2 separate regions of the Homo sapiens genome follow, and region 1 is linked to region 2. Evidence: promoter capture Hi-C in 16 types of primary human blood cells and fetal thymus (Javierre and others, 2016). All regions are on one chromosome and are shown on one strand. Each heading gives the region's core, a stretch centred on a gene start or on the middle of the fragment in contact. The rest is flanking DNA. Distances are from core to core; before and after follow the strand shown.

What was found. Contacts are between HindIII fragments. The CHiCAGO score rates a contact against its expected background, and 5 or more counts as called.
Region 1: a contact is called between a fragment that was not itself captured here and the fragment with the promoter of ZNF561 in region 2, in 1 of 17 cell types (total B cells). The highest score is 5.6, in total B cells.

What each region holds. Positions count from the first base shown.
Region 1 is chr19:8,824,721-8,830,317 of GRCh38, forward strand. ZNF558 (zinc finger protein 558) reads right to left here. Exons shown (of 10, transcript NM_144693.3): 3 at 282-388. Among named protein-coding and RNA genes, the nearest start is that of ZNF558, 4.8 kb to the right of the region's middle. The HindIII fragment of the contact is 986 bases long and covers 3,773-4,758 here.
Region 2 is chr19:9,619,182-9,624,904 of GRCh38, forward strand. ZNF561 (zinc finger protein 561) reads right to left here and starts at 2,051. Exons shown (of 6, transcript NM_152289.3): 1 at 1,981-2,051; 2 at 251-401. The coding sequence starts at 275. ZNF561-AS1 (ZNF561 antisense RNA 1) reads left to right here and starts at 2,301. Exons shown (of 4, transcript NR_122038.1): 1 at 2,301-2,464. RefSeq lists enhancers at 1,230-1,812, 1,961-2,380. The HindIII fragment of the contact is 2,809 bases long and covers 1-2,403 here.

The DNA.
Region 1 (5,597 bases), core at 3,016-5,515, 790 kb before region 2:
TGTGCTCGAAGCTCTCTCCTCCGCCCTTTCCCTTCTAGCTCTCCCGTGCTGCTAGACCCTTCCTCATGCCCCTCAAGCCTGATGTGGCATCTTCTGTAGTGCGATGAGCCCATCCTTGGGGTACAGCTTTCTTTCCGGTTACTGCCCCGTCTGTATCCCCCATCCCAGCCACAGCTCTTCACTCTGTCCCCTTTCCTGAGTCCTCACACGGTGCAATCTGGCTTCCCTACTATCATCCCAAGGACAATACCCTTGATGGAATCGACAATGACCTTACTCACCAGGGAGACGTGGATTGCAGCAACTCTGGCGCTATTTCCTATCTGGCAGGTCAACAGAGACACAGTGGCCCACACTCTTCATTCTCACACACTGCTGGGGGTAACCCCTAGGGAAGGAAACGTGCTGATGTCAAGCAAACCTGCAAAAAACATTTGTTCTTTCCTAGAACCCACTTCTAGAAATCTATCTCAAAGGTACACAAATACTGAAAGACACGTGTAAGATGATTCGCTGTGGCACTTCATATAATCGCAGAGGATTGAAAACACCACAAGTGACCATCAGTAGGGGATTGGGTGAATAAACTATGTGATAGCTTTAAGGTTGGTGCAAAAGTGATTGCGGTTTTTGCCATTACTTTCGATGGCAAAACCTGCAATTACTTTTGCAGCAACTTAATAAATAACAAAGAAACATGTAGCCAGGAAAAAAAAACCCCAAACCAAAACCAAAACAAAGAACCCCTGAAAAGATTTCTAGGTATTCAGAGAGATTATCTCCAATAAATTTAAGTGAAAAAAAAATCAAGGTACAAAGCAATGTCATGTGTCCTTTTTATAAGACGAGAAAGCCTCCTTTCTCCAGATTTATAGAATAAAACGTAACTCCATAAAGCCAGCTTCTGGAGGTTTCCATGTGTGACCTCCATGACATGAACCCAAAAGATAAAAGGAGTGAAGGGTGTGAATGGGCAGGGATGGGGGCACTGGACATTCAGGGTGAGTTCGGGTTCCGTCAAAAAATCAAGTTGGAGGGAGTCTTTGGCTCTTGGGCCTCTGTGGTAGACAGATGATTAACTTCCTGCTCTCCCAAGAAAGGGGTCTGTGTTCTAATCCCCAGAACCTCTGGATCTACTCCCTTACATGGCAAAAGGGATTCTGCAGCTGTGAGGAAGGCAAGGATCCTGACATGGGGGATGATGCTGGGTGGGCCCACTGTGATTACAGGGGTCCTTATAAAAGGGAAACAGGAGGGTCAGTTCAAAGAAGGATGGGATGAGATGAGAGAAGAAGGGAGCGTGTGTGTAGCAGGGAGGAGATAACATACAGAGAGACTGGAAGATGCTGCCCTGCTGGTGTTGATGATGGAGGAACAAGCCACAGTCAGGGAAGGCTGGTGGCCTCTACAAGATGAAAAACGCAGGAAATGGGTTCTCCCCTAGAGCCTCTAGAGCAGTGGTCCCCAACCTTTCTGGTACCAGGGACTGGTTTCGTGGAAGACAATTTTTCCATGGAGCACGGGGCGGCAGTGGGGCTGGGCAGGGAATGGTTTCAGGATGATGTTTTATAAGCACATTACATTTATTCTGCACTTTATTTCTATTATATTACACAGTAATATATAATGAAATAATTATACGACTCACCATAATATAGAGTCAGTGGGAGCCCTGAGCTTGTTTTCCTGCAACTAGATGGTCCCATCTGGGGGTGATGGGAGACAGCAACAGATCATCAGGAATTAGATTCTCCTAAGGAGTGTGCAATCCAGATCCCTCACATGCAAAGTTCACAATAGGGTTTGGGCTCCTATGAGAATCGAATGCTGCCACTGATCGGCCAGGAGGTGGAGCTCAGGTGGTAATGCGAGCAATGAGGAGTGGCTGTAAATACAGATGAAGCTTCGCTCACCTGCCACTCACATCTTGCTGTGCAGCCCTGTTTATAAGCACTGGTCCGTGGCCCAGGGGCTGGGGACTCCTGCTCTAGAGGGAATGCAGGCCTTCCAGCTTATTGAGGATTTCTGACCTCCAGCAAGGCAAGAGGATAAATGTGTGTTGTTTTAAGTCCCTGAATTTGTGGTAGTTTGTTATAGCATCAATAGGAAACTAACATGCCTTTCACATCACACCTTCCCTTTGGGTGAGTTCAGCAGACCCAGGCAACTGCTGCAGAACTTCCCTACCCTCTACAGGGGGAAGTATCTCCTTTTTCCCCGTAACAGACCTAATGTGCAGGTAGGCACACAGTAGTTCCAGTCACTGAGCTGGGGAGTGAGGGGGGGTTGGCCTCCAGCCAGCTCACTGGGCCTCCAAGAAAAAAACAAGTAGAGAAGGTACCTGGGACATTTTCAGGCCCCAAGTCCCTATTCAAGGCTGTCTGGAAGCAGAAATTTCCCACTAGGACAGGAGGGGTCTCTTCAGTTTACAGATCCTGTGACACCTGCCCTGCCCTGGATACAGTGCTGGAGGATGGTCACAGCAGATGGGCCACTCTATGTCAGCTGCCCAACACAACTTCTGGTGATGATGGAAATGTTCTATAATTCTGCTCTAATACTTGAAATGTGACTAGTATGGCTGAGAAAATAAATTTTATTTTTTTTGGGAGCAATCATCTGATTCCTAAACTACCTCCAAACACCCCCTCTTTTGCCTCTTAAATGTCTTCCTTCTGAATCCTGAAGTCCTTGTTATCTGCATGCTTACACTACATGCAAATTGCATCACCCTCTGGCCCACAACTCTTTAGTGTCTTCCCACTGGCCTGAGAACAGAGTCTGAAGTGAGGCCTAGTATGGTTCTGCCTCCCTCTTGATCTTGGTCTTGGTCACACTTCTTTCCCTATTCTTTTTTTTTTTTTTTTTTTTTTTTGAGGAGTCTCACTCTTACACCCAGGCTGAATGCAGTGGTGCAATCTCTGCTCACTGCAACCTCAGCCTCCCAGGTTCAAGCAATTCTCTTGTCTCAGCCTCCCGAGCAGCTGGGACTACAGGTGTGCACCACCACACCCAGCTAATTTTCGTATTTTTAGTAGAGACGGGGTTTCACCATGTTGGCCAGGCTGGTCTTGAACTTCTGACATCAGGTGATCAGCCCACCTTGGTCTCCTAAAGTGCTGGGATTACAGGTGTGAGCCACTGCGCCCAGCTTCTTTCCCTGTTCTTGTCTCGGCTTCAGCCATCCCTGTGTTCCCAGTGCAGGGAGCGTGGCAGCCTCTCTCCTGCTGCAGGGCCTTTCCTTACACAGCTTCTTCGACGGCAGTGCTCTCTTGGACATAACCCTGTCCCCTCACTCTAGTCGAGCCCTATGACTAGCTACATCTGACCCCAACTTGGAGATGGAGCAGCAATTCCCTTTTTCAGGGGCCTGTGAACCCCAAGTGGGAAAATAAAGGAAAATCCTGAAGTTCCTTTAAGGGAAATTCCGAGCATCCAGCTAGCCCCAAAAGTAAATATGGAACTTGTTAAACAGGAAGGTAATAGTAACCTAAAACAACAGCCAAAGAAGTTAAGGCTCCAGAGATGTTCGCTTTCCCCATGGAAACTAAAGATAACATCTTAACATGCGTCCCTGAGTTGCCTTTCAGAGGCTGGGACTCCCACTGAGGACCCCACCAAATGGAGCTGCTGGCTCAGAGACCCCAGATAAGCGGGACATGAAGGCTGAGCTTCAGCGTTCTTTGTGCTAAGTTTCTTCTTGAGGGGCTTGGAGAAAGTCACTTCTCCCAGCCAGTTAACATTTTCCTACTGACTCTAAATTTTTAAACAAAGCTTCTTTTCTTTAACCAATTACAAATCAGAAAAATCTTTGAATCTACCTATGACAAGCTCCTGCTTCAAGACATCCTTGCCCTTTTAAGTCTAAACCAGTGTGTAACCTCCATGTATTGCTTTATGATTTTGCCTGTAGCTTCTGCTTTTCTGTAACTTACCATTGCCTTCAGAAATCCTTGCCTAGCCGGGCACGGTGGCTCATGTCTGTAATCCCAGCACTTTGGGAGGCCTAGGCAGGCGGATCACCTGAGGTCAGGAGTTTGAGGCCAACCTGGCTAACATGGTGAAACTCTGTCTCTACTCAAAATACAAAAAATTTGCCAGGTGTGGTGGTATGTGCCTGTAATCCTAGGGACTGGGGAGGCTGAGGCAGGAAAATCACTTGAACCTGGGAGGCAGACGTTGCAGTGAGCTGAGATCGTGCCATTGCACTCCAGCCTGGGTGACCAAGTGAGATTCTGTCTCATTAAAAAAAAAAAAAAGGCCGGGTGTGGTGGCTCATGCCTGTATCATCTCAGCACTTTGGGAGGCTGAGGCGGGTGGATCACGAAGTCAGGAGATTAAGACCAGCCGGGCCAACATGGTGAAACCCCGTCTCTACTGAAAATACAAAAATTAACCGGGCATGGTGGTAGGCGCCTGTAATCCCAGCTACTCAGGAGGCTGCGGCAGAACTGCTTGAACCCGGGAGGCCGGGGGTTGCAGTGAGCTGAGATTGCAACACAGTACTCCAGCCTGGGTAACAGAGTGAGACTCCATCTCAAAAAAAAAAAAATTCCTTGCCTAAAAGCCACTGGGGAGGCCAGGATTTGAACATTTAATGTCTGGTCCTCCTTGCTTAGTGCTGTGCAATAAAAGCCTTTCTATCTATCGTAGCAACCCTCAATATAGACATCTGGTTTCACTGCACCACCAGGTGAGCAGACCCCAGTTTGGTTCTGTAACAACTTAAGCTCTCAAGCTAAATATCCTTCCCAAGAAAGCTTCCCTGTTCCCTCTGATCAAGTTCACTAGTGCCAAGCTCCCACATCACTCCTGTCATTCATGGTTTAAAATTTATCTTCCCTGTTAGAAGGTAAACTTTATGTAGGACAGGGGCCATTTCAGGTCCTCCAGGGTCCCTGTGCATCTGACCTAGGACCTGACTCATGGAGGCGACCTGGTTTGCCAAGGATTGTCCCGGTTTGAACACTGGATGCCCTGTGCCCTAGCAAACCCCTTGGTCCTGAAAAAATGAGGATGGTTGGTCACCATTAACTGTGCACTCAAATAATATCTATTGCATGATAAGTAAACATTCCTTCAAGAATGCTGTAGGAAAGCTAGAATGGAAAAGGTGAACACACACACAATTAGTAGAAACCCCACAATTTAATACTAGATTACTTAACATGATTCTCTGCAATATGAATCACCATACTGTTATTTCAGAGAAGTTTTAAGAAACAAAGTTAATTCCTATTAGGAGGTGATATCGTTGGCTCTGTGTCCCCCCACCCAAATCTCATCTCGAGTTGTAATAATCCCTATGTGTCAGAGGAGGGTCCTGGTAGGAGGTGACTGAATCATGGGGGCGGACTTCCCCCTTGCTGTTCTCCTGATAGTAAGTTCCCACAAGATCTGATGGTTTAGAAGTTTGGCGTTTATGTCTTCTCTCTCTCTCCTGCTGCCATGTAAGACGTGCCTTGCTTTCCCTTTGCTTTCTGCCATGATCGTAAGTTTCCTGAGGCCTCCCCCGCCATGCAGAACTGAGTCAATTAAACTTCTTTCCTTTGTAAGTCACTCAGTCTCAGGGAGTTATTTATAGCAGTGTGAAAACT
Region 2 (5,723 bases), core at 801-3,300:
GGGAGGTGAAGGTTGCAGTGAGCTAAGATTGCACCACTGCACTCCAGCCTGGGTGACGGAACAAGATTCTGTCTCAAAAATAAATAAATAAATAAATAAATAATAAAACAGCATTCTGTTCTGTGGTTCACTTCAATTCCTCCTAAAAGAACCAGCTGCATGCCTGCTCAGGCTCAGCTCACTGGACGCTTGTGTTGTGGAGGGTGACCTAAAGCAGAATCTCTGAAAAAGAGCATCAACAAAGACTTACCACGGGACAAATAAATGGCTGCCATTCTCTGAAGCTGATGGTGTGATGATGTGCATCCCTTCCTTGATGCCAAGATCACCTCAGGCCAGCTTATGAATCTAGGTGGATAGAGGCAATCTCCATTCCTCTTTGTACAGGGTTATTTGCGGTCCTGTTCATATCAATCATCAAACAACAAGCATGAAACATCAGTCATCAAACATTATGCCTGAGCTTTGTCTCTGCAGGTGACAGATGTGAAGGCCACCAAAAATTGCCCACTCAGTACCGTCACTCAGTAACAAAAGTATTAATAACAGTAACTGACATTTACTGAGGACTGATATGTCAGAAGTAGCTCTAGTAGCTTTATATATACATGCTCAGTTAATTATCATAGCCATCCTTCCCAGTAGCTATCATTACCTCTATCTATCTATATCTATCTATATTTATCTATCTATATCTATCTATCTATATATCTATCTATATCTATCTATCTATATCTATCCTATCTATCTATCTATCTATCTATCGAGACAGGGTCTCACTCTGTTGCCCAGGTTGAAATCCAATGGCACTAACACAACTCTCTGTAGCCTAGACTTCCCGGGCTCAAGTGATCCTCCCACTTCAGCCTCCTGAATAGCTGGGACCATAGGTGCGTATCATCACTCATTATTATTATTATTATTTTGAGACAGAGTCTCACTCTGTTGCCCAGGCTGGAATGCAGTGGCATGATCTCAACTCATTGCAACCTCTGCCTCCCAGGTGCAAGCGATTATCAGGCCTCAGCCTCCCGAGTAGCTGGGATTTCAGGTATGCACTACCATGCCTGGCTAATTTTTGCATTTTTAGTAGAGACGCAGTTTCGCCATATTGGCCAGGCTGGTCTTGAACTCCTGGCCTTAAGTGATTCTCCCACTTCAGCCCCCCAACTAGCTGGGACTACAGGTGCACACCACTGGGTCCGGCTAATTTTTTGTAGTTTTAGTAGAGACAAGTTTTCACCAGATTGCCTAGGCTAGTCTCAAACTCCTGGGCTCAAACAATCCTCCTGACTTGGCCTCCCAAAGTGCTGGGATAATAAGCATAAGCCACGATGCCTGGCCCATTACTTCTATTTAATACTGAAAAAAACCTACACTCAAACAACCCTAGTAGTCGGTCTGATACTTGTCCCTAGAGCCTGATCTCCTGTATATGGTGTTACCCCCCCGCCATATGACCAGAAGACAGTGCAGACCTGCACAGAACAATTCAGTAGTCACCAGCCACGTGTGTTATTGATAACTTCATTACGTACCTAAGATGACTTAAGAACAAAATCTAAAATTTTCAAAAGTCGGCCGGGTGCAGTGGCTCACACCTATAATCCCAGCACTTTGGGGGACCGAGGCAGACAGATCACCTAAGGTCAGGAGTTCAAGACCAGCCTGGCCAACATGGCAAAACCATCTCTACTAAAGATAGAAAAAGTAGCCGGGCGTGGTGGCACTTGCCTGTAATCCCAGGTACTCGGAAGGCTGAGGCAGGAGAACTGCTTGACCCTGGAGGCAGAGGTTGCAGAGGTTGCAGTGAGCCGAGAGAGCGCGCAGCCTCTCCGAACTGGACGCACAGGGAGGACTGATAGTCCCTGGAGAAGCGAGTGAAGTGAAGCGGATCTGAGAGGCTCCTAGGCGACAGCGCGCAATCATTCCTTTGCCGCCCCCTGCTATCCCCGGGACCGCCAAGGAGGTGGAACTCACCACAGCCTGGGCAGACTCCACCACCATAAAGGCGAAACCGCACTGACGGAGAGGAGCCAGCGCCGGAAAAGATGGCGGTGGTGCGCTGACGTCACTTCCGCTTCAACACTCTGGCCGGGCGAGGCTCGTGGGCTCCAGTTTCAGCCACGTAGGACCGGGTAGAACACAGAAATTCTAGTTTCCTCTCGGGTGGGTGCAGAAAGGGCCTGGGGTTGGCTCAGGGAGGGGGATGCAGAACTAGGTCCAGAGAAAAAGGTGAGGTTAGAACCGGGCCTCCAGACGGAACTGTGGGCGAGGGGAGGGGCTCGTACTCGGGGGGTGATTTAGAGGAGGGACCCGGCCTAGCCGGTGGTTCAGGTGGCCGGTCGGGCTGGAAGGGCGGGGATGAGGGATGGGACGCATCCCCGGGGGATGCTCCTCCAAAGCTTTTATCGGGCGAGCGCAGTGGCTCACGCCTGTAATTCCTGCACTTTGGGAGGCTAAGGTAGGTAAATAGCTTGAGTCTGCTGGGAATGGGTGCTCGCTTGGTGTCACAAAATCAACACTGAGACAAAGGATCTCAGCAAGGCTAGTTTTACTTTCTGCAGAATGGGTGCCACTGGCTGGCAGTCTTGCCACCAGAGCACACATTAACAAAGGAGACAGGGTTTTTTTAAACTTGAAGTGTCCATCCTTCTGCTGTGTCCAGCTTCCATTGGCTGGAACGGGACCTCACCTTCCTGTACTTCACTGGATTGGCTAGCAACTTAGAACTTCCCAAAAGAGGCAATGGCAGAGGAGAACAAAGGAAGAGAGGAAGTAACTTGTGGACTGTTGAGAGAGGCAAAAACACTTCTAAATAGGGAAAGGAATAGGCCATGACCTAATAGTTGCTTGGACCAGTTCAGGCATGCCAGGGCAAATATCTAGGCTAAAATGTGGGAGCTAAAAACAGAGTCTATTGATTTCTTTATTACGGCTGGCAGAATTTAACAATATTACCACAGGTCTTTGAGAAAATTTGGCTTCTAAGAGGGATTACTATTTATTTCAATCAGACTGGGAGGAAAGTCCCTTTGAAGAGGAACCTGTATTTATTTCATTTTCTACAAGTCCAAGAGTTTGAGACCAGCCTGGGCAAAGTAGCAAGACCCTGTCTCTCTCTCTCTCTCTCTCTCTATATATATATATATAAACATATATGTATAAATACATATAAATATATAAATATATAAAAAATATATAAATATACATGTTCAAAATGCTTGTTCCCTGGTGCCATAAAGAAATTAGCACTTGAACATAAATTTAATTTACTCAGCAAGGCCATTTTTACTTCCTGCAGAAACGGTATACTCACCAGCAGTTTTGCCACGAGAGTACACCAAACAAAGGAGATAGGGTCATTTATAACCTGATGCTTCCAACCTACTGCTGTGTCCAGTTTCCACTGGCTGGAATGGGACCTCACGTTCTGGCTAGCAACTTATAACTTTTTAAAAGAGGCAAGGGTAGAGGAGAACAAAGGAAGGAGGAAGTAACTTGTGGAATGCTGAGAAGGGTCAAAACATCTTCAAATAAGGAAAAAGAACAGGCTATGCCCTAATGCTTGCCTGGACCAGTACAAGCATGCCAGGGCAAATATGTAGACTAAACTGTGGGAGCTAAGAATATAAAGTACATTGATTTCTTTATCACGGCTCACAGATACTTGAGAATGTTAGCACAGGTCTTTGAATAAATTTTGCTTCTAAGAGAAGTTACTATTTATTCCTAATTAAATGTGAAGGAACGTCTTTGAAGAGGAACCTCTGCTTTACTTTTTAGATATAAATATAAAGCTTGTTTGTATGCCTCTCCTCATGTTCCTAGAGCCTTTCCATGATTCTTCCATATTGATAAAGCTGCCAATGAATGGCATGGTCTATCCCTTCCATTCAGTCAGAGTTTCTGTAGGCCTTTTTTTCTTCATTCTTTATTTTTTAGAACCTGCTGATTCCATTGGGTTTTCTTTTTCTTTCTTGCTTGCTTGCTTGCTTGCGACAGATCTCACTGGATCAGACCAGGCTGGAGTGCAGTGGTGTGATCTCAGCTCACCGCAACCTCCACCTCCCAGGTTCAAGCAATTCTCCTGCCTCAGCCTCTGGAGTAGCTGGGATTACAGGCGCCTGCCACCACGCCCAGCTAATTTTTGTATTTTTAGTAGAGAACGATTTCACCAGGTTGGCCAGGCTGATCTCGAACTCCTGGCCTAAAATATCTGCCAGGCCAAGATGGTAGGATCGTTTAAGGCCAGGAGTTTAAGACAAGCCTGGGCTACACAGCAAAACCCCATCTCTCTATATATATATAAAAAAAATTTAAATTAAAAAATGTTTTGTTTTGTTTTGTTTTTTTGAGACATAGTTTCGCTCTGCCACCCAGACTGGAGTGCAGTGGTGCGATCTTCACTCACTGCAAACTCTGCCTCCTGGGTTCAAGCCATTCTTCTGCCTCAGCCTCCTGAGTAGTTGGGACTACAGGCATGTGCCACTGCGCCCAACTAATTTTTGCATTTTTAATACAGACATGGTTTCATCATATTGACCCAGCTGGTCTCAAAGTCCTGACCTCGTGATCCATCCACCTGGTCCTCCCAAAGAGCTGGGATTACAGGCATGAGCCACTGCCCCAGCCAAAAATATGTATTTCTGTTGTTATTTTTCTGATCTTACCACATGGGCCAGGAACACATTTCCTACGTTGTAAAATAGCACTGATACCAGACATTCTCCCCAAGATTATTCAGAAATGTAACATACTCCCAATAAAAATACCAAAAGTTTTTTTCTGGAGTTAAGTACATTGATACTGAAGTTTATGTGGAGGAACAAACATCTGATAATAACCAAGAAAACAAAAACAAAAGCAATGATGAGCAGCAGATATTAAAACATACTATTGACAGTTTTCATGCAAGGCAAAGAATTACATTATTTTAAAATAAAAATAAAGTCCGGGCACAGTGGCTCACGCCTGTAATCCCAGCAATTTGGGAGGCCGAGGCAGGCAAATTACCTGAAGTCGGGGGTTTGATACCAGCCTGGCTAACATGGTGAAACCCTGTCTCTACTAGAAGTACAAAAATTAGCAAGCGTGGTGGCACATGCTTGTAATCCCAGCTACTTGGGAGGCTGAGGCAGGAGAGTTGCTTGAGCCTGGGAGATGAAGGTTGCAGTGAGCCGAGATTGTGCCACTGAATTGCAGCCTGGCTGACAGAGTGAGACTCTGTCTAAAAAATTAATTAATTAATTAATTTAAAAAACATACTATAAAGCCTCTATAATTAAAACTATGTGGTACTAGCACGTGAAACAGAAACTAATAAAATATCAAAAAATAGACCCATGAACATGTAGAAATTTGGTTCATAAATGTATTTTGCCAGATGCGGTGGCTCATGCCTGTATCCTAGCAATTTGGGAGACTGAGGCAGGAGGATCACTTGAGGTCAGGAGTTCAAAACCAGCCTGCCCAACATGGTGAAACCCCATCTCTATTAAAAATACAAAAACATAGCCGGGTTCGGTGGCTCATGCCTGTAATCCCAGAACTTTGGGAAGCCGAGGCAGCCGGATCATGAGGTCAGGAGTTCGAGACTAGTCTGACCAACATGGTGAAATCCCATCTCTACTAAAAATACAAAAATTAGCTGGGTGTGGTGATGCATGCCTGTAATCTCAGCTACTCAGGAGGCTGAGGCAGGAGAATTGCTTGAACCCAGA